7 separate regions of the Homo sapiens genome follow, and all the other regions are linked to region 2. The links are contacts of gene promoters, found by promoter capture Hi-C in blood cells and fetal thymus (Javierre and others, 2016). All regions are on one chromosome and are shown on one strand. The core of a region is centred on a gene start or on the middle of the fragment in contact, and the rest is flanking DNA. Distances in the headings are between cores, read along the strand shown. Region 1 overlaps LOC339166 (a long non-coding RNA gene). Region 2 holds the start of WSCD1 (WSC domain containing 1). Region 3 has its middle 150 kb from the start of NLRP1. Region 4 overlaps LOC105371509 (a long non-coding RNA gene). Region 5 overlaps LOC105371509 (a long non-coding RNA gene). Region 6 overlaps LOC339166 (a long non-coding RNA gene). Region 7 has its middle 180 kb from the start of NLRP1.

Region 1 (3,718 bases), core at 195-2,694, 270 kb after region 2:
CTCTCAAATAATAATAATAATAATAATAATAATAATAATTAATTTAAAAAAATTTTTTTAAAAGATAGCCAGGACCAAGGTCCTCATTGAGGCCAGGGTCAGGGCTCAGCCTGCAGCATGATGCAGCTGCCCAGTCCTCAGAAGCAGCAATCTGGGCATCCTCAGCCCCAGAATCTTACCACAGACTCAGGAGGCCCAGTCCAGGTCAGATGTTCTCAGCTCCTCAGTTGTTCATGTGCAGAACAGACCCGCCTGTCACTGGACCTGCCTCTGAGTCCGCACTACAGAGCAGCCTGGCCAGCCCCGCCTCCCTCTCAGAAGTCGGTTTTATATCCTGCTCTGGCACCTTCTCCCAGGGAGTGCTCTGAGGGTGTGCTGGAGACAGCGGTGGCTCACATCACCATGACAATGACGCGGCAACCCAGACAGCTCCTCCACTGTGTGGTCTATCTCTCCATCTGGGTCCATGGGTTGTCTTTCAAAATTAAATCAGAAACTAAGGAAAATGAATAAAAAATCACTGGGCCGACTGGTTTTTCCCACTGAGGGCTTCTGAAACCAGCCGCCTAGAAGTCCATTTATGAGAAACTGTAAGTAACCCTTCATCCAGCCCTAGCCACACCCTGTCGTGAATTCTCAGGGCTGCTGGGTCCCGGAAGATGATCTTCCAAAGGCAGGGACGGGGAGAGAGAAGGCATTGAGTGGAGCAAGTGCGCCTGGGGAGAGGATTTGGTCCCCTGGGGGTGAGGGAAATGTGCCCCCGTTTTGATCAAAGATGGAAGAAACAGCAGACTTCGGCCATGCTGAAGATTCCTTCCACAGCCAGATGCAGGCTTCATCATGTGGCCTGTGGCCAGAGAAGAGTGTCATCCTCCTGGTCAGCGAATACATTTTGTACTAACTGAATCTCGTTGCAGGAGAATCTTCCTGGCTTTCTAAAATCTAGTAGTGTTGCCGGTGGAAAACCTCATTCAGACAGCAGCTCTGTGGACTGGGAGCAGCGGGAGGAGGACAAACTTTGAGGGGACTTTTTCCAGCTAAGAATGGTTTTTACATTTTTAAATGGTTGCAACAAAAGGAAGAAGGTGGAGGAGAAGGAGGAAGGAGAGGGGGAAAAAAAGAGGAAGAAGGTCATATATGACCCTCAAAGCCTAAAATATTTACTCTGATCCTTTACAGAAAAACTTTACTGATCCCTAGTCTAAAGCAAAGGGCTTGAATTTCAATCATGGTCCACAAATTTCACTGTGAACAAAAAAATTCTTTGTAACTTTATTTCAAGCTTCTGCTACGGTGCATAAACCAATCTCAGGGGACCCCCTCCTTTCCCTGGGGTTGTGGCCACATTCCTATATAGCTCGAAGTCAATTGGGTGTTCAATGTCGTCCATCCGCACGAGCATCTTCTGAGATGCCCATCATCCTCTCTGCCCCTCGCAGGTCTCTCATCTGGCTCTTTCAGGTCTGCAAGCTCCGGCCTGTATTTCTGCGGCTTGTCTGAAAACCCAGCAATCATTCAGCTGCTCCTGCACCGCAACAGGGAACAGGATTTTTACAGATAGACCATATGGTCCCACCTTGTCGATAACTTCTTTCTCTAAGCTTCCCTGGGGTCCCCCTCAGAGAGTGGGGCACAGGTCCTCTCTGTTCCCAGATCCCACAAACTTCTCTTGGGGTCATGCTGCCTCCCCAGGGCTCTGCCCAGGAGGTAGGGACCAGATTGCTCCCCCCGGGACACACAGGGAACTATACTCTCAGCTTCTCCTCCACTCCTGTGTTCTTTTCTTCCCTTAGCGTTTGGAATCTTTGCTCTTCCAGAGACCAGATGGTGGTTACTCTTCTCAGTCTCCCGGTCTTAAATATTTTTGTCTGACTGTTCAAAGGAGCTTTTTGTTCTGTCTAATACTGTTATTTTAGAACATAAAATTCAGGAAAAGAATTCACAACCCTTTCCTTTCTGACATACCCCTTTTCTCTGAAGGAATCAGTACAGAATGATCAGACTGCTTAAAATTGGAGAGAAGGCCATGCTGGAGGAGAGAAAGGTCTGCGATATTTCACAACTATTTTTCCATCATGCTAAGCTGTTCATTTGTAATTAACTTATTTACTTATACCAGGCTTACTATACAGCCAGCTTATATTGGCTCTCAAGAGCCAATTGTTGAATTTTCAGAAAAGTTCCAAGCTGGTTGTTAAACCATTGGTAGCTTGAAATTGGCCACAATAGGAGCATTTATACCACAAAAAGTGATGAACATACAAAGCCAGGCATCTCCTGACCTACCTCCAAAAGAGCCAGTTGTTAACATTTACTAGCACACAACTGCTCATACCCACCTCATTCCACAAAGGACTTCAGGTAGATTTTCCAAGTGCGGTGTGTCTGAGATGTTAATCACTGCCAGTCCCACTCATTCTCACTCTAATTAGATTTTTTCTACTCAGAGTTTCTGCTGAATAAGCAGCTATGTTTTCTACCCGACGACCCTCCCCACCTTAGCCCACATGTAGCCCTGGCTAACTGGCCTGTGGTGGGCACCCGGCGCAATAGAAGACAGTCCCTAGGAGGGCCAGAAAACCATGCCTTGGAGACCTTGGCTCAAAAAGATGAGGCTATATAGCACTCAGTGTATGAGCTACCCCAGATCTGCACATTTGATTTCTATCTGGAATGGCTGGAGCCGTGGCTTGTCCCATTCCTGTGGTCTTACAGTCAAGTCACAGTCAGAGTCAGGTTGCTGTGGACTCTACCCCTGCAGCAGCCTGGGGGACTTGCTCAAAACCCTCATCGCCACCTCACCCCATGCCTGCTCCAAGCCTCTTGCCTCCCACCTCAGGACGTCCTTGTTGCTGCAGAGACAAGAGACACCAGGGGACCCAATTGAAGCTCACATTACAAACAACCCAGAAATGTGAGGAATTAGCATCCCTTGAAGCAAATTCTAACCAAAAGGATATGGGAGCCCACAGATAAATTCTTACCCTTCCTCCCCTAAGAGTCCAGCCTAGATCAGTGCTTCTCAGTCTCAGCACTGCTGACATCGTGAACCAGATGATTCTTTGTTCAGAGCAGGAGATGCTGTGCCTTGGAGGATGTTTAGTAGCATCTCTGGCCTCTGCCCACAATATCACCAAATGCCATTGTCATCCTCCTGGACATGGCCATCAAAAAATGTCTCTAGATGTTGTTCAGTGTTCCCTGAGGAGCAAAATCACCCCTGACTGAGAATCATTAGCCTGGACAGACCAGAGATGCTGCAGTTTCACGTGGCCTCTCTGAAGATGTCCTGCAACGCCGAGAAATCAGCTGTTAGGCAGCTGCAGCCAGCTTAGCGACACACTCTCCTGCATTTGCTCTCCCCTGTTTCCGCCTCACTCCCCCTTTCTCTCACCCCTGCCTCCCTGAAACTACACTTCCCAATAACATGTAAGCTTTTTCTCCAGTTCTGTTTTCTAGAGAACCTGGGCTAAGACACTTGCTAATTAGATTTCATCGCAAGAATGTGAACTAAGAGACCCAGAGGAACGTTGCCACGCAGTGGTGGAGGCTGCAGCTGGAAGGAACCGTCGTGCTGGGGCTGAATAGAGGAGTACAGGAGACAGGAGTGAGCACAAGGTGGAATAAGTCTGCAAGAAAGAGAACAGGACAGAAGCACAGAGCAGACCCGCTGAGAGAGTGGGAGCAAGCGTGGGAAGGAACAGGGATTCCTCTTAAA
Region 2 (3,686 bases), core at 260-2,759:
AGGATCTCCTGAGGGCCAATCTAAGTGTGTGGGGGTGGGGGCATGATTGAGAGAGACAAACCTCATTCTCCCATAGCCCAAGGAAACCTCCCCTAGCTCTCTCCCCAGCACCTGCAGCCACCAGGAGTGGGTGATTGCAAACAGCGCAGGGCAAGCCAGCTTTATATCTCCTGTAACTTTCACTCCCCACCACCCTCACTTTCTGTGCCTGACAACCTAGGCAAATCAGAGGAAAAAAGAAAGGCCCCCACTCCTGATGCCAAAGTGGGATAAACCAAGTGCCTCCATAAACCTAAGCATGCTGTTCCAGCAACAAGAGGGATGCGGGTATCTCATGTTAGAAAAGTACAGCGGAGTCCTGCATCTGTCCATCTTGGGAGCTGCAGGGGCAGGGCCAGTGTGGGGAGCAGCTGGATCCCAGTGCAGGGCTATGAGGCTAGAACTCCTATATGAGCCTTCCCACTGCTCAGCGGAAGGAAGAGCGGTCCCCTTCCCCACCCGCATTCCCGATCAGCAGAGCAGGCATCATCCCAGGCGCACAAATGCTCAGGAAAACCACCAGCGAGGTTACCCGGAGGCAGGGGACCCAGCCAGGTACGTACGCTCCTGAGTAGCCAAGAAAAACGCAATTTAGCAACCTTCAGTCGTGAGTCTCCGTCCACACCTACGAAGACGCAAAGCTCTACACTAGGTAATTTTCTGGACAAAATACATACGTTTTGCTTTTGCCTCTGCCTCTGTTCAAGTTCACCAAGAGACGGAGCAAACCCTCCGCTGACCGGAAGCCTCTCTTGGTAGCGGAACGAGAGGGAGCTGCTTCTGGGTAAACGTCGCCGCCTAGGAGGGAAGCTGTGCGCACCCCACACCCTGCCCTCGCCCCCTCCCCGGGACCAACCGCAGCGCCCTCCCGGGTGACGGACGGGCTCTCAGGACTCCGGAGGGGGACGCGGCTCGTGCGGCGCCTCGCGCACCCCCACCCCATCCCGGCCGCGCCGAGCGCCGCCCCCGCCCCCCCACAACCCCTGCACGCACCCGCTCACTCTCCCCTGCCCCGGCCGAGCCGCCCCGGGCCCCCGGGAAGGTGCCCCCGGCAAGCCCGCCCTGCAGCCGGAGCAGGTGCAGCCCCGCCGCGCTCCCAACCGCGTCTGCACAAACTTGTTTGCCCGCGGCAAGGGGAACACCCTGCTCGCAGCCCGCGCGGGGGTCCGGCTGGAGCGCCGAGAGACAGGACTCACCCCGCGATCGCGGCCGGCTGGGGCGCCCGCACCCGCGCCCATGGCCCGCCTTCCCCGGGCGCCGAGCCCGCAGCCCCCCGCAGTGCCCGGAGCCCAGAAGCCCCGGCGCCCGCACGTCTCCGGCCGCCCGCGGCAAGCGGACCCACGCGCCCGGGCACAGGGCGCCGCCGCCTGGCTCCCCGGGGCTGCTGGCGTCCGGGCTGAACGGCGGGGCGGGCGGGCGGGCGCGGAGCCGGGGCGGGCAGCGGGCGGGCGAGCGGGCGCCGGGCTCTGCACATGCTCACTCGCGCGGCCCGGGGACAGCGGCCGGCCGCCGCCGGGTCCTAGAGGCGCCGGTGCGCACCTCCCGCCGCCCGGGGGAGGGGTCGCGGCTCCGCCGGAGGGGGCCCACGCCCTGCCCCGGCCCGCGAGAACACGCGCGCGGGGCGGGCCACACGCGCCACTGCCGAGCAGAGACGCCGCCACCCACTCTGATACACACACACACACACACACACACCAGTCACCCAGAGCCACAGCCTTTCACCGGGGCCCCACGGGCTCTAACACACGCACCATGACGCTCACACCCAGACACAGACCCACAAACACACGGGGCACTGCCGCGCAGAGGAGAGCACGCCGCCACTCTCCCATGCAGACTCACAGCGACAGCCGCACACTGCCTGACACACACATCCCGAATCACTGCTTCCCAGAGACACCGACACCCACACTCACACACACACTCTCTGGGCTCTGCCCCACTCACCCAGAAGCAGACTGGGCCACTGTGACAGGCACGCACACGTACACACACAGCCACACAGTTTAGAGTGCACTCTAATACACACACACACCACACACGCACGCACACACACACACACACACACACACACCGGATCACCGTCCCATGCAGAGCTAGAGACAGACGGTCACAGCTTCACACACATTCACACTCAGAAACAAGCACCTGCTGGAACACAGACACTCTCACACAATCTGAGACAGACCTACACAGAATTGCAGCCCTACAAATACCCTGACACCAGCTCCCGCGTCTACACACTCGGGGGTCGGCCGCCGGCTTATCATACTGCTCCACACCGCACACAGTGACAAACCCACGCCTTGACATAGTTGCCCACAGAAGCAATGTCACACACTGGTGTCTACTAACAGACACACTCTCAGAGGGGCATACTGGGCATTGACCCACAGGCTCTCTCTCTCTCTCTCTCTCTCACACACACACACACACACACACACACACACACACACACGCACCGAGGTGGAAAGAGGCTGAACAGTCACACAAGTCTATACACAATCCCCCTCTTTAAATAAAGGCTGGATCCAAACCTAAAGATTTTTCCCAGGGAGGAGCCCCACCCTGTTCCCCCAAAGCCGCCAAGTCACAGCATCTGCCCTGCTCTGCCATGTGCACCGGTGGACCCTGTCCTCACCCGGAGCTGGCTGCTAAGATGCTCCCAGAAGCTGAGGACAGCAGAGGCAGCAGGAGCAGGTGGTGGTGCCTCTTACTCCGTCTTCCTAAAAGGGAGTTTCATGCCTCCGACTCCCGCTAGGGGCAGAGCTGCTTGGCCTGGCTCCGAGGAGCTGGCTTGCAACAGGTGCAGGTGGCAGGGAAAGCGTTTGCCTGGGGACCAGTCACAGTCCCTCCTTACGCGGGTCAGTCAGGTGGCGCCCAGAGCGGGAAGAGACTCGCTGCAGTTTGCATAGCTATGTCTGGCCAAGTGCAGAATTAGAACAGAGTCTGCACCATCCGCATGAAGGCAGAATGCTCTGAAGGTCTTGGGGCACCTGGATTTAATATCCTTAAGCCCAGGAAGAGGATACAGTAAGTGAGAGACGAATTCTGTGCTGCCTCAGAGTCCCAACCTTGCAGAAAAGCCCCCTTCACATATATATCCTTTACAGAATGTGAATGTGTGTGTCGTTACGATTTATAACAGCAACCCACTGTGCAGTCTCGCAATGCTGTTTGGTTTGCAAAGCCCTCTCCATGACCAGCTACATAATTTGAAGGGCCTAAAATAAAAATGGAGCCCCCTTTTAAAACACTATCAAGAATTTCGAGAGATAAAAGGAGGATATTAAACCAGTACGGGTCCCTTCTGAGCACAGAATTCAGAGCCTTTCACAGATCTCATACCCATGAAGCCAGCCCTGGCCCTCTCGTACCCATTGTCCCACTTAAAACTGATAAGTCTATAGATGCCTTCATGTGCCCATTTGACAGATGAGGCTTTCAGGTGGGTGATCACAAAAGGCTCACAGCCAGTTGAGCCCAGGGGAATTCAAGCCCAGCTCCTCTGGGAAGCCAGACATTTCCCGGCAGCTGCTATTCAGAAGTGTCCATCTGCAGCAGCAGACACTTGGTACAGAATAATCAAGCAGAAGAGTTGATGTGGCTGCCACCAGGGAAGGAGGTGACTCAAGAAGAAAAAGCAA
Region 3 (3,857 bases), core at 467-2,966, 340 kb after region 2:
CAGCTTTCGCAGGCTGTAACTTGGGAGGGTTGAACCAAGCTTACCTAAATTTCCAGGAGGCACAGAAGCCCCGTTTGAGAAGGGTAACATGTAAACGTCAAGCAGAGTCCGTCAGGGGTGTGAGCTTTGAGCTGAGTGCCCAGCAGACGGGACTCCAAGTCCCTTCTTTTCTGTGTCCCAGTCTCCCTGGGAACCTACTCCACCGGGAGCAACAGCCCTGATTCCAAATACCTTTAAAATGTCCTGGAAATGTTGTTTTTTTTTTTTTTTTAGCATCTAAATGATATGCCCCAGACTTCTTCTATTCCAACTGTTTCTTTTTTTTTTTTTTTTTTTTTTTTTGAGACCAAGTCTCGCTCTGTCACCCAAGCTGGAGTCCAGTGCCATGATCTCGGCTCACTGCAAGATCTCGGCTCACCACAGCCTCCGCCTCCCGGGTTCAAGCAATTCTCCTGGCTCAGCCTCCTGAGTAGCTGGGATTACAGGCACATGCCACCATGCCAGGCTAATTTTTGTATTTTTAGTAAAGCCAGTGTTTCACTATGTTGGCCAGGCTTGTCTTGAACTTCTGACCTCATGATCTGCCCACCTCAGCCTCCCAAAGTGCTGAGATTACAGGCATGAGCCACCGCGCCCAGCCTGTCACCTCTGTTCTATCTTCCAATTCTGTATTCCAAATTCCAAATTCTGCAGTTCAAACTCAAGTTCTGAATTCTAAGTTGTACCTTCTGGATTCTGTTACATGTCTGTCTCCTGCCCCTAAATCCTTCCTGGGTCCCATCCTTTTTCCCTGTCTTTTTGGATGGAATGTCTGGACATCCTCCTGACCTTGCCGATTTGAGGGGTTTTTTTTAGCAGTTCCAGGATTTTCCCCATCAGGAGGGACTTGGTTTAGACTAAACAGCAAGTGGGTGGCAGTGGCTCAGTGGAGATCAGGGAATTCCTGAGGACCTGGCTTGGCCTGACCTGACCTCCTTCCCTCCCATCCCACCTCTAACCACTGGACATACTTCCTTTTGTGCAATTAAGCTAAACCGAGGATTTCTGTGGTGATAGCTGGGGACTGAGAAATCTTAGGAAAAGATGTCAGCAGACCTAGAAGATTGCTATGTTTCATTCAGAGAAATTAGGAACTACTTCCAGCAGGGGGAAGGAGGGAGGAGGGGAAGGCAGGAAGGAGCTGAGCTGAGCTCTAAGTCCTCAGAATTTGTCATCCTTCAGTTCCCCGTTGTCTGAGCTAAGCATGGACCCTCAGAGTCCTCCCAGAGCCAAGAGAAAACCATGACAGTAGGACTGGGGTGCTCCTCTGTCCAGGGTTGCCCTGAGGGAGAAAGGGAAGAAGGTAGAAGTGTTGGGAGCATGACTGGAGAGGTGAGGTCTTCAAGAGGACCTCAAGAGGATCCTCAAGAGGATCCAAGACTCCACGTGTTGCCCGAGGGGAACTGTACAATAGACATTTCATCCCAAGCCCTCTTCCTGCAGGCAGCACTTCGGGTCTCCTCCCAAGACTGTGGGTCTTTATAGGACCAGAGATGATGCACAAGGTGGAGCTCTCCTATTTGGGAGGAGCCACGATCACCTCCTGGTTCTCCTGCTGGGACTTGCTGCTGGTACCTGCTGGCAGGACCCCAATTGTTCCCCTACTCCATCATGGTTCCTGGCTTCAGCTTGCATGTCCTCAGCTCATAAGATGTTGGGGTCCACGCTGGGCTATGGCTCATTCCAGAAGCTGAACTCAAGGAGCAATTGGTGTCTCCTGGACAACAGCATCCAGCTGCACTCCTTCCGGACCTCCAGGTACTCCTTGTCATGCAGTCCGCGAGGGCTGAGTAGCCACCTGAGAACCTCCACAGGTGCAGTGCCTGGTCCTGCTCCCTACAGCACGTGTTCCACTTGCCCATGAGGGAGCAGGGTAGTCCTCATCCTAGTGCAGTATGGACAGTGCTGCCTCCATCAGTGCCTACTATAGGCATCCGGGCACTCAGGCTTCTCACTGTGAAACTGGATCTTGTAGAGGTTGCTGGTCTCCTTCTTGGACAGCAGGGCAGAGTGGGCATCCTTCCAGGGATCCACTTTGTGAACAAAGAGGGAGCAGAACCAGTAGCCTTCGTTGTCCTTGGGATAGAAATGCAGCACAGCCGCAGCTGCAACATCCCCAGCACAGGCCTGGGCCTTCCAGTAGCCACTGTGACACTGCAGAGATGCTGCACAGCCACGAAGCCATGTTGGATCAGGGAAGGTTGCAGGAAGACCTCATGGTGTGTTTGAAGAGAATGTATATTCTGCTCTCACTGGGTGGAGTTGCACTAGGTTGGTGCAAAAGTAATTGCAGTTTTGGCCCATGAATTTTAAATCATTATAACTAGGTTCAAACACGTTTTTTTTACTTTTAATTTTTTAATTCAATAGGTTTTGGAGGGGGGGAACCGGTGGTGTTTGGTTACATTAATAAGCTCTTTAGTGGTGATTTCTGAGATTTTGGTGCATCCATCACCCAAGCAGTGTACACTGTACCCAATGTGCAGTCTTTTATCCCTCACCACCCCCGACCCTTTCCCCTGAGTCCCCAAAGTCCAATGTATCATTCTTACGCCTTTGTGTCCTCATAGCTTAGCTCCCACATATAAGTGAGAACATACAATGTTTGGTTTTCCATTCCTGAGTTACTTCACTTAAAATAATAGTCTCCAATTCCACCCAGGTTGCTGTGAATGCCATTAATTCATTCCTTTTTATGGCTAAGTAGTATTCCATTGTATGTATATACCACAGTTTCTTTATCCACTTGTTGACTGATGGGCATTTGAGTTGGTTCCACATTTTTGCAATTGCGAATTTTGCTGCTATAAACATGTGTGTACAAGTTTCTTTTTGGTATAATGACTTCTTTCCCTCTGGGTAGATACCCAGTAGTGGGATGGCTGGATCAAATGGTGGATCTACTTTTAGTTCTTTAAGGAATCTCCAAACAGTTTTTCATAGTGGCTGTACTAGTTTACATTCCCACCAACAGTGTAAAAGTGTTCCCTTTTCACTGCATCCATGCCAACATCCATTACTTTGATTTTTTTTATTATGGCCATTCTTGCAGGGGTAAGGTGATATCACATTGTGGTTTTGACTTGCACTTCCATTATAATTAGTGATGCTGAGCATTTTTCCATATGCTTGTTGGGGCCATTTGTTTATCTTCTTTTGAGAATTGTCTATTCATGTCCTTAGCCCACTTTTTGATGCAATTGTTTGTTTTTTTTTTCTTGCTGATTTGTTTGAGTTCATTGTAGATTCTGAATATTAGTCCTTTGCCTGATGTATAGATTGTGGAGATTTTCTCCCACTCTGTGGGTTGTCTGTTGACTCTGCTGATTATTCCTTTTGCTGTGAAGAAGCTTTTTAATTTAATTAAGCCCCATCTATTTATCTTTGTTTTTGTCACATTTGCTTTTGGGTTATTGGTCATGAAGTCTTTGCCTAAGCCAATGTCTAGAAGAGTTTTCCTGATACTATCTTCTAAAATCTTTATGGTTTCAGGTCTTAGATTTAAGCCCTTAATCCATCTCGAGTTGATTTTTGTATAAGATGAGAGATGAGGATCCAATTTCATTCTTCTACATGTGGCTTGCCAATTATCCCAGCACCATTTGTTGCATAAGGTGTCCTTTCCCCACTTTATGTTTTTGTTTGCTTTGTCAAAGATCATTTGGCTTTTTTTCTGGGTTCTGTATTCTGTTCCATTAGTCTATGTGCCTATTTTTATAATAGTACCATGCTGTTTTGGTGACTATGGCCTTATAGTATAGTTTGAAGTCGGGTAATGTGACGCCTCCAGATTTGTTCTTTTTGCTTAGTCTTGCTTT
Region 4 (4,262 bases), core at 1,749-4,248, 270 kb before region 2:
TTTGACATCTGTCAAAGCTTCTTGAGTGGCACACTGAAGATTTGTGCATTTCACTTGACGTAAATTTTGTCTCCAAAAATACAAAGGAGTTTTATACCGATCTCGAACTTTAGTAGATGACGCACATGCCGAAAGATTTAGTGGTGAAGCATAGGGATGTCTACAGCTTACTCGGAGTGCCGGCAAAAACAAGGTGGGTTGGCCAGGCCCGCTAATCACGTCTGTAATCCCAGCACTTTGGGAAGCTGAGGCGGGCAGATCGTGAAGTCAGGAGTTCGAGACCAGCCTGGTCAACGTGGTGAAACCCTGTCTCTACTAAAAATACAAAAGAATTTAGCCGAGGATGGTGGCAGGTGCCTGTAATCCCAACTACTCAGGAGGATGAGGCAGGAGAATCACTTGAACCTGGGAGGTGGAGGTTGCAATGAGCCAAGATCGTGCCATTGCGTTCCAGCCTGGGAGACAGAGCAAGACTCTGTCTCAAAAAACAAAAACAACACAACACAACAAAAAACAAACAAACAAAAAAACCAAAATGGGTTAATGGATGGATAGAGGGTTGGATAGATGGTTAGATATGGGAAAGAGCAAATGTTGCAAAATGTTAACAATTGTAGCACCTGGGAGGTGGGTATGTGAGTGTTCATTGTACAATTGTTTGAGTTTTCCTTATGTTTGAAAAAATTAGTGATAAAATGTTAGAAAACATGAAAATAGAAATGAAATAAACATTAAGCCAAGAAAGTTGAAAGTAATCCCTACCCTAGTTGAGTATACATTCTAGTGGGAGGAGAAGGACCATATTTAGCATATTGGATGGTGATAAATAGTTTGAAGAAAAATCAAACAGGGTGGGGATGCTGGGGTGGGGCAGCTGTTATTTTAAGTGGATTGTCAGAGAAGGCCTGAAATGGCCAGGGAACAGGTCTCGTGGGTCCTGGGAGACCAGTCCAGGCAGAGGGAATCGCACCAGTGGAGACCCTGGGGCCAGGCATGCTGTTCAGTCAAGGAACAGCAGAGGCCAGCTGGGCTGAAATGGAGAGAGGGAGAGGGATGAAGCTGGAGGCCATTGGGCCTTGTAGGTCTCATGGGAGACTTCTCTTCTGAGAGAGATGGGGAGCCCGCTGAAGGGCTTTGAAGCAGAAGCATGTAAGAATGAAAGGATCAGACTTCTGTGTTTTTTTTTTGTTTTGTTTTGTTTTTTTGAGACAGAGTTTCATTCTTGTTGCCCAGGCTGGAGTGCAATGGCGCGATCTCGGCTCACTGCAACCTCTGCCTACGAGGTTCAAGCGATTCTCCTGCCTCGACCTCCCAAGTAGCTGGGATTACAGGCATGCACCACCACGCCTGGCTAATTTTGTATTTTTAGTAGAGATGGAGTTTCTCCATGTTTAGTAGAGACGGAGTTTCTCAGGCTGGTCTCGAACTTGCAACCTCAGGTGATCTGCCCACCTCGGCCTCCCAAAGTGCTGGGATTACAGGAGTGAGCCACCACGCCTGGCCTGGACTTCTGTTTTAAAAGACTCAGTCTAGCTGCTCTGTTGAGGATAGAGTGTGGGCAGGTGAGAGCCAAGGCTGAGAGGCAGTCACAAGGTCTCAGCAAAGGGCCAGGGGAGATATGACTTGGACCAGGGTGTAGTCATGGAGGTGTTCAGACATGTTTGGATTCTTGATACTGTAACCTTATCAGACCAATCTGGTTCCAATCTGGTTCAACTTTTTTTTTTTTGAGATGGAGTGTTGCTCTATTGCCCAGGCTGGAGTGCAATGGCATGATCTTGGTTCACTGCAACCTCTGCCTCCCAGGTTCAAACGATTCTCCTGCTTCAGCCTCTCAAGTAGCTGAGATTACAGGCACACACTGCCATGCCCGGCTAATTTTTTGTATTTTAGCAGAGATGGGGTTTCACCGTGCTGCCCAGCCTGGTCTCGAACTCCGAGCTTAGGCAATCTTCCCGCCTCAGCCTCCCACAGTGCTAGGAGTACAGGCGTAAGCCACTGAGCCCAGCTTGGTTCAACTTGTAAGAAACAAAGTTATGAATTGTTTTTCAGTTGCCGTGACCCTCAGGTTGAAGGTCACATAACCTGAGCATGCCCAGATGAACCAAGTGTGCAGCCAGAGGGGGAACCTAAGGGCTTGGACTGACGATCGGGGGACTGAATTAAGAAGTGGACATGGCAGGACCCAGGATCCAATCAGGTCAATCCCTAGCATCATCTCATGGAAGGATCCAATCAGATCATGCCTCCCAGCATCACTTCATTGCAAGATCCAATCAGATCATGCCTCATTACTTCATGCCTATAAAACCTGACCCAGCCCTCTGTTTAGGAGGCACTGTTTTAGGAATTATCCCCTGTGGTCCCCTTACTTGCTGCAAGTAATAAAATCCCCTTGTTAAGTCCTTCTTTGTTGTGGTTATTGGGCTGGCACCCACGAAGAGACTGAACCCATCCATTGGGCATGTAGCAGTACATTTTCAAGGCGTAACCAACAGGATTTGTGTGTAGTGTGGACGTGAGGAGGGACTGGGCATGGTTCACAGTCTGGTTCTGGGCTGTTTCCTCTAAAGTCTTTTCACTGCACTCTAAACAATCACCACATCAACCTTTGAAGCATGGGAAAGGCTTTTGGAGAATGGGTTTAAGATCAACGACGTCTGCCCTATGAAACATCCTCCTCCCAGCTATGCTTGTTTCCTGCTTTCTGGGGCTGGGGGTGAAGAATCTGAGTCACTGGGATCCCAAGGCAGGGACAAGTTCTGCCATGTGTCTGAGTGAAATGGGCCAGGATATAGGCCAACCACCAGCTGGTGGAGCTCATGGGTCAGGCTGTCCACTGGCTCTGACCACCGTGATGACCACCCGGAGTTCTGGCACCATCGAACTTGGAAGCAGAATGTATTTGGCTGTGAAGGATGGCCACAGTGAAGCAAAGCTCCCTGGTGAGGCCTGTTGAATTTACAACTCTCCTCTTTGTGATGGGGCCAGACTTCCCAGTTCAAATTAGACCCAGGATGTTCTGTTAAAAAGAGGAACAGGCCAGGTGCCGTGGCTCACGCCTGTAGTCCCAGCACTTTGGGAGGCCGAGGTGGGTGGATCACGAGGTCAGAAGATTGAGACCATCCTGTCTAACAAGGTGAAACCCCATCTCTACCAAAAATACAAAAAATTAGCCGGGCATGGTGGCAGGCGCCTGTAGTCCCAGCTACTCGGGAGGCTGAGGCAGGAGAATGGCGTGAACCCAGGAGGTGGTGCTTGCAGTGAGCAGAGATCGCGCCACTGCACTCCAGCCTGGGTGACAGAGTGAGACTCCATCTCAAAAAAAAAAAAAAAAAAAAAAGAGGAACAGAGAATTATATTGATTGGCCATGTTTTATAATAACTAAAATTCAATAATATGCCTTGTTAAGTGCAGAAGGGAAAATATCCCTACTGTAAATATAGGTTACAGGAGACAGATGAAGAAATTATATTATAGCATGGCAAGATGCTAATGTGATATGTGTGTTCTATAAATATCATAGCATCAGATCCGCCTGGAAATTGAATTGGTTTTTCCTGCTTATTGGACTCAACCCTCTCTGCCTTCTTGTTGCATGGAGACTTTGAATGAAGAATAGAAATATGACCAGAAGGAAAGTTTTTATCTTGCTTAAAGCTGCACAATAAAAACGTGATTTTGTAAAGGGGAAAGCAATCTACGGTGATCTGTATTTAGGAGATACCTCATGGAGGCATCTTTGTCCTGTGGTGCTTCTGCAAATAGCAATTGAAGAATAATTAAATCTTTAGTTTGTTGGAACAGGAGGGGATTAAATGGGCAGTTCTGATCAACTCCAAATTGTCTTTTAAGTTACTAACTTTCTGGGTCACTGCACGTGACACAGAAGCCACAGTGGGGGCTGTACCAGCTTCCAGAGCCCAGTGCTCCTCTCTCAAGGAGACAGTGTTTGAAATATATCTGTGATTGAAAACACTTAAGTGTGAGGCCTCCAGCGCTCTCCCCTTTCAAGGTGACAGTAATTGAAGGATGGTACCATGCAATCCTGACATTTATAATCCGGCTGTGGAAAAGGTCAGCTTCCTTTTGGATCTGCACTGGAGCCAGCGGGACAAGAGCTCTGAGACGTCACATTACGTCTTTGATATTTTTAGGGATGCTTTGATTAATAACAGCTTTAATTTGCAATGTACGTATAATTATAACCACCCCCCCCCAACCCCGCACCACCACTCTCCACTTTAGGAAATGACAGATT
Region 5 (3,646 bases), core at 384-2,883, 290 kb before region 2:
ACATCAGTTGTCTGGGGGAATCTAGTGGCAGAAAAAGAAGGAGGCAAATAAAATCATGATAAATAATACCACAGCCACACAGCCACCACTACCACCAACCTTCAGTAAACCCCAAAGTTGTGCTTGTCTGGTTGTCTCTTGTTTTTATTCATTGAAGATTTTTTTTTTTTTTTTTTGACAGAGTCTCACACTGTCGCCTGGGCTGGAGTGCAATGGCGTGATCTCAGCTCACTGCAACCTCCGCCTGCCGGGTTCAAGCCATTCTCCTGCCTCAGCCTCCCGAGTAGCTGGGATTACAGGTGCACACCACCACACCTGGCTAATTTTTTGTATTTTTAGTAGAGATGGGGTTTCACTATGTTGGCCAGGCTGGTCTCGAACTCCTGACCTCGTGATCCACCACCTCAGCCTCCCAAAGTGCATCAGAGATTTTTATCTTCACTGGGAACCGCTCTTCTTGCATCCTATGGCATTCTGGTGGGACTATCAATCTCAGTGCTTCCTGTACAACCTGGCTACAGGGCTATTTCAATTCTGCCCACAGGGATTGGGCCAAAGGATAGACATGTGACTCAGGCAGGACCAATCAGATTTCTCCCATATTGAGTTGCCGGGTAAAATACAGCCCACCCAATTAACTGAATTTTAGATAAACCACAATATTAAGTGAAGCTGCTTGTGGCCAACTTTGCTGGATATATCCATTTACAGTTGGAGAGAATGAGGGTGATCTATAAAAGGAGCTGAGATGTAAGCAGGGTGAACAGCAAACGGGTCTTGAGAACACTGTTTGAGTCTCTGACCCTGGTCAACTCTAGGTCCGGACGTCCCAATGCTATGAGCCAGTAAATTTCCTTTCCTGACTAAAGTCTTTTGAGATGAATTTGCGTTACCTACAAACGACTCCTAAAAGTGGCAGAAATTGGTACTTGGAATTGGCATTGCTGAGCTGAAGAGGAATGAGGCACAGGGGAATACCTCAGTTTGTAGCTGGGAAGCCCTTGTTATCAGTAGCTATGCAGCTGGTTAAATTGTTACTGTGTGCTTACTGAGGATGGCACTTCAGGGGATTGGTAGATATTTCGGGGATATTAGAGTATGTTGGCTACTCCTTATGGCCTCTTGGGAGGGCATAAATGTAGTCCACAATAAACATGGTCTAAGCAGCTCATCTGGAAAACAGAGAGGAAGGAGCAAGCAGTGTTGACAGAAGAACCCTCCCTTCCCCTTTCTTTAGACTAAGTCTTGATGGGATAAGCCATGTGCCTTGCAGAATTGCAAAAGTAGAATTTCCTGCTTCTGGCTAAGATAGGAAGGCAGAAAATAACATAACAGAGCAATAAGATTGGATAGGGAGGAGCCAAAGGAATAGAGGAAGCTGATCCCCCAGTTCCTAAGCAACTCTTCAAGCACCCTCCTGTCTTCTGGAGGAAATGATACCTTCATTATAAAGTGCATCCCTGGGATATAACCTTGAGGCAGAGGGCAGACAAAATCTGCCTTAGAACAATTTTTTCGGACTACTTTCCTCCAAGCTTACAAGCTGTTGTTCAACATTCTAGTTCTAGCCTATTTTTAAAATTCCAGTGAATTTGACATTATGATATATTGTTTTGTACAGTCATTGCTTAGACTTTGCCAGTTATTTTACAATATTTATCTCATTATTCTACCTTCCATTTTAGACCTTTCATTTGGGACCATTTCTCTTCTGTGTGAAGCATAAGCTTTAGAATTTCCTTTAGTGGGCATCCTATACTAGTAAATTATCCGTTTTTATTGTCTCAAAATGTCTTTTAAAATCCTCATTATTGAAAGAAAAGTTTCTGGATATAGAATTTTACGTCTACAGTACTTTCAACACGAAGATAATCTTCATGTTTTCTCTCTTCCATTGTAGTGTTTGAGAGGTTGGTTGTAATCTTAATTGTGGTCTTCTTTTTCTTTGATATTTTGCAATTTCACTGTAATGTACCTAGTATAGAGATTTAAAAAAATATTATTCTGCCTGGAATTCACAGGTTTTCCCTAAACTGAGAATTGGTGTTTTTCAACAGTTCTGGAAAATTCTCAGCTATTGTCTCTTCCTGTATTGCCACTTTCTCATTCTCTTTGTTATTTTCTTTTGGAACTCTGATGATCATTATATTAGACCTTCTTGACATATTTCCTTTGTTTAATCCCTCTTCCATAGTTCCATCTTTTTATTCTATGGGCTGCACCTAGATCATTTATTCAGATCTTTTAGTTTACCATTTCTCTCTTCACAGGTGTTTAATCTGCTAGCTGATATGTTTAGTGAATTTAATTTTTTTTTTTTGAGACAGAGTTTCGCTTTTTTTGCCCAGGCTGGAGTGCAATGGTATGATCTTGGCTCACGTCAACCTCCACCTTCTGGGTTCAAGCGATTTTCCTGCCTCAGCCTCCTGAGTAGCTGTGATTACAGGCATGTGCCACCACATCCGGCTAATTTTTTTGTATTTTTAGTAGAGACCGGATTTTTCCATGTCGGTCAGGCTGGTCTCAAACTCCCAACCTCAGGTGATCCACCCACCTCGGCCTCCCAAAGTGCTGGGATTACAGGTGTGAGCCACCGTGCCTGGCCTTTAATTATTATTATTGTATTTTATTTCTATTTAGCTTAACTTCCATTTTTTCCTGTGTCTATTTATGTGTATGTTATATTCTATACCGAAAAATTCCAATGTCTAAAGTTCTTGCGAATCTTTTTTTTCTCTGAAGGTTTTTACGCATGATACTTTATTTCCTCATATGTTTTTATGTTTTGTGATTTTGGGCTGTAAGCTGCTTATTGTCCTTGGGACTTTATTTGTGAGGATTCTTGGGGACTTCTTTGAGGTTGAGTTTCTCCAGAGAGGATTTTTATTTGCTTCTGAAGTGCCCAGGGGCACTGCCTGAAGTTTTTTGGATCTCACAACTAGTATAATTTTGGATCTCAAAGTTATGTAAGAAGTGGCCTGTGTTTACAATGTTTTCCCCCTCCAACCCATGCCAGAGTGCATTGGTTAAGTTTCCTTGTTGCCTCTTTGTGGCGATCCAGGTTTACTACTTCTTTTTTTTTTTTTTTTTTTTTTTTTTAATTGAGATGGAGTCTTGCTCTATCACCCAGGCTGGAGTGCAGTGGTGCGATCTCGGCTCACTGCCAACCTCTGCCGCCCGGGTTCAAGCGATTCTGCTGCCTCAGCCTCTGGAATATCTGGGATTACAAGTGCATGACACCACACCTGGCTAATTCTTTTGTATTTTTAGTAGAGATGTGGGTTGTGCCATGTTGACCAGACTGGTCTCGAACTTGTGACCTCAGGTGATCTGCCCGCTCTGGCCTCCCAAAGTTCTGGGATTACAGGTGTGAGCCACTGCTCCCAGCCCAGGTTTACTTTTTATTCACTTTTAGAGTCTGGCCTCTGTGAACCTCAACGTTATGCAGGGATTTCACATTAGATCGCCAGCCTTGGGCTATGACTGGCTTTGGTTTCCTGTCCCCTACACCTCAGATAGTCATCAGAGAAGAACCTCAGCGTTTCCGGAGGTTAGCAGAAGCCTTCAGGGAGAAAGCAGACTTTGGCACTCATTTTCCTTCCAGACTTCTTATTTCACTTTGTTTTAGGGCTTTGCAGAGTTCTGA
Region 6 (3,651 bases), core at 611-3,110, 290 kb after region 2:
GGAAGAGCATCCCCAGGAATCAGAAGTCAACAGAGAATGTCATAAACTGCCCACAGAGAGTGGGCAAGTAAAAGAGATCCCAGAATAGGGATGAGGGTAGTATATGGCATCATAGGTCACGATGATTCACTCCTTTATAATAGTCACAGTTTGGCTATGGACTCCTGGTGAGCACAGGTGACTGCTCACAGGTGCCTTGCTCCTTTACTTTGAGCTAGGCCTGTGACTTGCTATGGCCAAAGGGGTATTCTGAAAGCAGGGAAAAGGTGAGCAAGGCAGGGCTGCAAATATGCTTGCATGTGGCAGGGCTAGCCCTCTGGTGTCCCAGTGATCCATCTTGAGAAGATGAACCTGGGCCTGAGCCCTACAGGGAACACAGAGGGGCCAAGAACCAAACCCACAACCTGGAGCCACAGCCACCTGAACCCATAGCTTGAAGCAGACCCACCAGCCAAACAGTCTGAACCAGCCAAACAGCTGCAAACCCATGACCATGAGAATAAATGCTGGTTTTAAGCCACTGAGTTCTGGAGCTGTTTGTTATGCAGCATTATCCAGCAGAGGTTGATAATACCAGGGGTCTGAAAAACTCTCAGCAGCACCTATGAGAGAAAGGCTTGGCTCTAAACAGCAGCTGATGTCAGAGGAAATAATTGCCAGATTCCCCTCACCCCATACACACAGTTATGAAAACCATCCCTGCCCTTTTCTTCTTTCCTTACCCTAGTCCACACCTCCTAGCCTCACTCATCCCTCATTAGCTAGTGGGATGAGGAGAGGAGAATGGGCGAGGGTGATGGTCAGTTTTATGTGTCAAGTTGGTTAGGTTACAATCCCCACGTATTCAAACAAACATGAATCCATGTGTTGCTGTGAAGGTATTTTGTAGATGTGATTAAAGTCCATAATCAGTTGATGTTAAGGAAGGGAGGTTATTCCAGATAATCCGAGTGGTCCTGATTCAATAAGTTGAAAGCCTTAAGACCAGAACTGAGACTTCCCTAAAGAAGAAGAAATTCCACCTGCAGATAGCAGAATCAGCTCGCGCCTGCAAGTTCCATCCTGCCCTTCCTGGAAGCCTTCCCTACAAGTTTCAGGCTTGCCTAGGCAGCCCCTACAATCACATAAGCCAATTTCAGGCAATAAATCTCTTAATATTTATCTCCCATTGGCCTTGTTACTCTGGTTGAACTCTGACTGATAGAGATTTCTGGAACCTAGAAGTGAGGTGCTGCTATAACAAATACACAAAAATGTTGAAATGGCTTTGGAACTGGGCAGTTGGCAGAGGATGAAAGAATATTGAGGGGCACAATAGAGAAAGCAGAGATTGTCTTGAACATACTGCCAATAGGAAGATGGATGTTAAAGCCTCCACCATGAATGACCAGAAGGAAATAAGGAGCACAATAATAAAACATGTAGCATTTTACTAAACACCCAAATCATTGTGAACAGCCCATTGGCAGAAATAGAAGTTTAAAGATGCTTCTAATGAGGGCTCAGAAGGAAATGAGGAGCGTGTTATTAGAAACTGGACGAAAGTGGACCTTTGTTACATAGAAGCAGAAAGCTTAGCTGAACTGTGTCCTACAGTCATGTGGAAAGCAAAACTTATACATGATGAACTTGAATGTTTAGTTGAGGAGATTTCCAAGCAAAGTGTTGAAGGTGCAGCCTGTTTTCTTCATGCTGCTTATAGTAAAACATGAGAGGAAAGAGGTAAATCGAGGAGAGAACTGTCAAGAAAAAGGAATTGGGAGATTCTCAGCCTATCCACAATTTTGCAAATAATACAAAATTAGGGGATTCGTTGTCAAGAAAGCATGCACTGGAAAGGAGGTACGAAACTGGAAGTGGTGTCAGACCAATGCGGGACCACAAGCCAAGGAATGCAGGCAGCCACTGAGACCTGGAAAAGGCAAAGAAGTAGATTCTCCCCTAGAACCCTCCACAGGAATACTGTCCTGACAACCCATTTTGGACTTTTGAACCACAAGATAATAAATCAAGAATTATAAGACAGTAAATCTGTGTTGTTTAAGCCTCTAAGTTCATGATAATTTGATGCAGCTTCAATAGGAACCTATTGCAGGGAGTAAAGAGAGAAAAATCTCCCCCAACTCCCTTTCCTGATTGCAAGCTTTAAATGAAGTTTGGAGCCTTGGGTATTGCCCCAGATTAGACATACTAATTACTGAACTGAGACTGTCCAAGGGGCTGAGGCAACCAGATAACATTTTATGATCTAAATGTGGTCAGAGAAGTGCAGGGCCTTCTGGAGATCTCATTAGGATCAGGGGAAAACAAGTCCTACAAAGTGAGTTTAAAGAGGCAAAACTAAAGTTGCTTTATAAAGGCATCTGAGGCCAGGCACAGTGGCTCACGCCTGTAATCTCAGCATTTTGGGAGGCTGAGGCAGGCAGATCACCTGAGGTCAGGAGTTCAAGACCAGCCTGGTCAACATGGTGAAACCCCATCTCTACTAAAAATACAAAAATTAGCTGGGCATGGTGGTGCACGCCTGTAATCCCAGCTACTCGGGGGACTGAGGCAGGAGGATTGCTTGAACCCAGGAGGTGGAGGTTGTAGTGAGCCGAGATTGCACCACTGCACTCCAGCCTGGCAACAGAGCAAGACCTTGCCTGCATGGAGGGAGGGAGTCACAGGAGTACCCTTATGTCTTGGAGTCTTTGGTGAATTATTAGCCAGGGTTTCACCCACTCAGTCCCAGGTCTAGACTCAAAGGTCAAATTCCCTGAACATGAAAGAGTCCCCTTGGGATGCCATAGGGAGCAGACGTGGACCATGGACCCCACACAGTGAAGCTGAGGCTGAGTGGTTTTGAATTGGGATGGGACTATCTCCACATCCAAACCCTGCCCCTTCCTAGGTGTGTGTCTTCAACAAATGACTGAACTTCTCTGGACCTTGCTCCCCTTATTATAAGGACCATCATGCTCACTTCATGAGGCTCTAATGAAGGTTAAAGGAGACAGCACTAAGGGAGTAGTAATGCTCAAAAAACAGTAGCTGTAATAATAATAATTAATATTACAATTAGATCCATCCCCACTTGCATCTGTGCCTGCACCTGCACTGCACCTGAGCCATCCTCCACCTGCACCTGAGCCATCCTCCACCTGTACCTGCATCTGCACCTGAGCCATCCTCCACCTGCACCTGCATCTGCACCTGAGCCATCCTCCACCTGCACCTGAGCCATCCTCCACCTGTACCTGCATCTGCACCTGAGCCATCCTCCACCTGCACCTGCATCTGCACCTGAGCCATCCTCCACCTGCACCTGCATCTGCACCTGAGCCATCCTCCACCTGCACCTGAGCCATCCTCCACCTGTACCTGCAGTGCCGTCGCCACCTCTGCCACCACTGTTCTCACCAGCCCCAGCCCCACCCCGACTGTCAGCTACCACAAGGCCTTCCCTCCTGAAAGCTCCATGGCCATAAACAGTTTATGTGATTATTACATTTAGCCCACATTTGCAATGACTTCCTCTCTTTAATCACTTTGAAGATGTTTCAAATTCCTTTCCAACGTGACTGAAATCAAAGTGGCACCTGTGAAGGGAGAAAGCCTGCCTGCCGGTGCGAGGTGGAGACGTAAAACAGTCAGGTTTGATGGGGAGAA
Region 7 (3,654 bases), core at 457-2,956, 310 kb after region 2:
ATGGCAGCCATTCAATACCCCTTCGCGAATGCCACCCACGGTGTGGTCTTTAAATCAGCATCAAACTGAACACTTTGGCAGCTCCCTGCAGACCCCCTCCTGGCTTAGCAACTGCAGCAAAGAGAGCTTCCCTTCTCCCACAGTTCCAACACAACCGAATCTCATTGAGCCTCCTTGGATCACCTACCTGCCTGTTCCTGAGTGGCTCGTGGCCATAGGAAAGGAGCATACAAGAATCAGTGAGGGCTGAGCCTCAAGACCATCCCTGAAAGTGGGGGGAGATGTCACCCTAACTAATGTACTGAGAGAAGAGGGGGCAAAGTAAGGTGCTGTGGCCAGAAGAAAGGGGAGTGGGTGCAGGCAAAACTACCCGCTATGCCCCACAGAGGCGCACGGGTTTCAGGGTCCTGACCAAGCATCGGGAGCCCAGTGGAACTCGAGCCTCTGCCATCCTGGTTTGGTTCTGATAGAGTTCCATGAACCATCCCTGTCCTAAGTACAAAGCCCCAGAAGTGAGATCAGATAAAGCTTTAGGCGTGCTCAGAACCAAAAGGGAGCGAGGGAGAGAAAAGAGCTCCCAGATCCCTTGTGTGCCTCCTCTTTGAACAAAAACCTCAGAACCCATACAAGCCACCAGCTTACTCCCCACCAGCCAGAGGGCTGGCCACTGCCACCTACATTGCTGATGGGCAAGAAGAAACAGCCCTCCCCTTCCCAAAGAGAAGGAGTTGTTGCAATTCGGGAAGTCTCGGTGAAGCTATAAGAAAAGGTCACAGTGGAATAGATGATGGAGGTTGAAAGAATGCCCGTGTCTTTGGAGATTGGACCTGCAACACAGCCTTTTGATTTTCTTTTTAATCATCAGTCTCTAATTCTGGGACATAAAATTACAAGCTCATTGATAATGATCAGTGACTTACCGGAGAAAGCCCAGCGCTAATTAAGAGCAGAAAAAGCTGACACTGCTTTTCAACTTTCACCGAAGCCCAGCAATGAAATTACCTGGTTCTGCGGAGAAAATAACACCAGCAGGCATGGAGGGGGCCTGGGTTACCTGATTAACGTGTGCTTGGCCCAATTAATACACAGAGAGAATTCCTTTGAGTGTTAGCAGTTTGCAGGTAATTGGGGCATTGATGGACGCTGGGAAAAGCAGCCGAGCTCGTGCATGAACACAGAGCCTGTGTCTGCTGTTACATAAAGAGAGATTTGCAAAGTCCATAGACGACTCTCCCAGTAGCTGCCCAGGGGTCAAGAGTCAGTGTGTAGCCAGGGTCTCAGTCTTTGATAAGAGTCAAAGGTCAGAGCTCAGGGTTTGGTCAAGGTTAGAGATCAGTGTGTGGCCAGAGAGAGGTGAGTCTACATCCAGGATGGGGGACGGAGTTTTTCTGTGCCTGGGATGAGGGACTCAGGCTCGGTCTATCTCTCCCATCGTATCTTCTGTACCTCCCTGCCTGTCTTCTCATGCCGCAGCAGACTCTCTTCTCCTATGTGTTTCTCATCTCTTGGTGTAGCTTCTTTCCTCTGACTCCAGACATAAGAGGAGTTTGACATTGACCTCCCAGCCTTTGACTGTATAAAGAGACCGCTTAAGGCACTTTGAGTTAGAAGCTCAGACCGCTTGAGAGCTATGGCATCCCTGAAGCATGTCATGACCCTCCTTGGAGTCAATGCCAGGGAATGGCAGAAGGGCAGGTTGTATAGCTTCCACCGGGGAACTCCCTTCCCCAGTCCTGTAGCCCTGAGCACAGGCTACCAACAGGGCTCTTGGCTCCCAATGCTCCTTGTCAAGACACTGATGAGATCGACAGAGCTGCCTTTTGATCATGTCAATGGTTCAGCTCAGCCTAAGTGATGGACTCTTCAATGCCATCCTCATAGTGGTCTTCTCAGGACAGTTCTAGGGATTCATTCTAGGAAGGAGGACCTGGTGCTTTAAGCCAGACAAAATGCTAGGGAAGGAGTTGATGCTTTGCTCAGCACTCCTGATGCTCATTTTCTGGTGGAGTCTTCCTTGAGGTGCCCAGCCTGGAACTGAATGGGGTGCCACACACATCTTACACTAGCAGTAGGGTAACCAATTGTCCTGATTTGCATGGGACTGGGGAGTTTCCTGGGACAAGAGACTTTCAGTGCTAAAACTGGGAGAGTCCCAGGGAAATTAGGATGGTTGGTCACCCTAGATTCACGGGAATATTGGCTCATCTTATCCCTGGAGCCTTGGACAGGCTGGTGCTGAGGGTGTTGTCCTTCATTCTGTTGCTACCAAGGCTCACCAGTTTCAGCACCAGATGCTGGTGGTCTGGAGCCAGACACCATAAACATCTGTATCACTGCTTTCTCCTCTGAATCCACAGGATCAGAGATATCACCACAATGAGGAGAGAGTGGGAGGGAGAGAAATTCAGCTCCACAGGGTCTCTGAGAGGACTCACTGCAGAGCACCTGTAAGATACCCTCTGTGCACTTGCAGTTCACTAGGAGGAGCTGACCCCAGGGCTGCTGGAGTCCCTGCTCCATGAGTGGGAACTGATGCTTAATAAGAACCCAATTTTTACACTCTGCTGAAAAAGACCCAGGAAATATGAGGTACATTTATATTGCTTTCTTGCTTTAAAACACACATGCTGTCTTAGTCATCTCAGACTGCCATAACAAAATACCACAGACTAGGGAGGCTTAAGCAACAACAGACATTTATTTCTCACGGTTCTGGAGGCTGGAAAGTCCAAGATCAAGGTGTCAGCAGATTTGGATTTAATGAGGGCTCTTTTCCTGGCTTGCAGATGACTGACTTCTCACTGTGTCCTCAGATGGCAGGGGAGACAGACCACTGGCATTTCTTCCTACAAATACAATCACGTTCATTGGAGGTTAAGCTTCAACATATGGATTTTGGGAGGTCACAGACATTCAGTCCACAAAACACACACACACACACACACACACACACACACACACGACTCTCCTCAAATCCTAAGAGCAAGGCCAGGCAGGAATTACTGTCTCTACTTTGAATATAAAGTCACAGGCTCAGGAACCTTAAGGAACTTCCCCAAGGCCATTAATAATTACATGCTAATATTTTTTAAATATTTTTTTTTTGAGACAGAGTCTCGCTCTGATGCCCAGGCTGGAGTGCAGTGGTACGATCTCAGCTCACTGCAACCTCCACCTCCTGGGTTCAAGCAATTCTCCTGCCTCAGCCTCCAAGTAGCTGGGATTACAGGTGTGCACCACCACGCCCAGCTGGTTTTTGCATTTTTAGTAGAGATGGGGTTTCGCCATGTTGGCCAGGCTGGTCTCAAACTCCTGACCTCAGGTGAGGAGGCCTCCCAAAGTGCTAGGATTACAGGCATGAGCCACCGCACCAGGCCTTTTCTTATTATTTCTAAATTATCATGCTTGTAGCAGAGCCTGTCAACTTCCTACCTACATCTTCTCAGCTCTTGCCATTCCAGTCTCTGATGACTGTGTCCTGCTACAAGCACCTGGGCTCACCTCTCCCAGGTGCTGCCCTCAGCCATCACAGGTGGGAACTGGAGAATAAATACCACGGCTTCCTTGCCCCTCTGATATTTTACATGTTCTGTGCAGTCTTCTAGAGCTTCCCAGTGGGATGAACTGCCACTTCCCACGTGGTAACCTGATGAG

What was found. Contacts are between HindIII fragments. The CHiCAGO score rates a contact against its expected background, and 5 or more counts as called.
Region 1: a contact is called between a fragment that was not itself captured here and the fragment with the promoter of WSCD1 in region 2, in 2 of 17 cell types (endothelial precursors and M0 macrophages). The highest score is 11.1, in endothelial precursors.
Region 3: a fragment that was not itself captured here is called in contact with the fragment with the promoter of WSCD1 in region 2 in 1 of 17 cell types (endothelial precursors); the score reaches 5.6 in endothelial precursors.
Region 4: a fragment that was not itself captured here is called in contact with the fragment with the promoter of WSCD1 in region 2 in 3 of 17 cell types (naive B cells, M0 macrophages and M1 macrophages); the score reaches 5.8 in naive B cells.
Region 5: a fragment that was not itself captured here is called in contact with the fragment with the promoter of WSCD1 in region 2 in 7 of 17 cell types (endothelial precursors, M0 macrophages, M1 macrophages and 4 more); the score reaches 9.3 in endothelial precursors.
Region 6: a fragment that was not itself captured here is called in contact with the fragment with the promoter of WSCD1 in region 2 in 4 of 17 cell types (endothelial precursors, M0 macrophages, M1 macrophages and 1 more); the score reaches 13.6 in endothelial precursors.
Region 7: a fragment that was not itself captured here is called in contact with the fragment with the promoter of WSCD1 in region 2 in 3 of 17 cell types (endothelial precursors, M0 macrophages and M1 macrophages); the score reaches 10.1 in endothelial precursors.

Annotation. Positions count from the first base shown.
Region 1 is chr17:5,797,450-5,801,167 of GRCh38, reverse strand. The region is part of intron 1 of LOC339166 (a long non-coding RNA gene); the gene reads right to left. Among named protein-coding and RNA genes, the nearest start is that of NLRP1, 210 kb to the right of the region's middle. The HindIII fragment of the contact is 319 bases long and covers 1,285-1,603 here.
Region 2 is chr17:6,068,202-6,071,887 of GRCh38, reverse strand. It overlaps WSCD1 (WSC domain containing 1), which reads right to left and starts at 1,509. Exons shown (of 9, transcript NM_015253.2): 1 at 1,236-1,509. RefSeq lists an enhancer at 1,442-2,273. The HindIII fragment of the contact is 6,207 bases long and covers 1-3,686 here.
Region 3 is chr17:5,728,592-5,732,448 of GRCh38, reverse strand. It overlaps the pseudogene LOC100128284. Among named protein-coding and RNA genes, the nearest start is that of NLRP1, 150 kb to the right of the region's middle. The HindIII fragment of the contact is 3,350 bases long and covers 42-3,391 here.
Region 4 is chr17:6,340,662-6,344,923 of GRCh38, reverse strand. It overlaps LOC105371509 (a long non-coding RNA gene), which reads left to right. Exons shown (of 4, transcript XR_934188.3): 4 at 2,053-2,405. Among named protein-coding and RNA genes, the nearest start is that of AIPL1, 92 kb to the left of the region's middle. The HindIII fragment of the contact is 5,958 bases long and covers 20-4,262 here.
Region 5 is chr17:6,358,863-6,362,508 of GRCh38, reverse strand. All of the region lies in intron 2 of LOC105371509 (a long non-coding RNA gene), which reads left to right. Among named protein-coding and RNA genes, the nearest start is that of AIPL1, 74 kb to the left of the region's middle. The HindIII fragment of the contact is 192 bases long and covers 1,538-1,729 here.
Region 6 is chr17:5,781,462-5,785,112 of GRCh38, reverse strand. All of the region lies in intron 1 of LOC339166 (a long non-coding RNA gene), which reads right to left. Among named protein-coding and RNA genes, the nearest start is that of NLRP1, 200 kb to the right of the region's middle. The HindIII fragment of the contact is 570 bases long and covers 1,576-2,145 here.
Region 7 is chr17:5,761,416-5,765,069 of GRCh38, reverse strand. No RefSeq gene overlaps it. Among named protein-coding and RNA genes, the nearest start is that of NLRP1, 180 kb to the right of the region's middle. The HindIII fragment of the contact is 2,351 bases long and covers 531-2,881 here.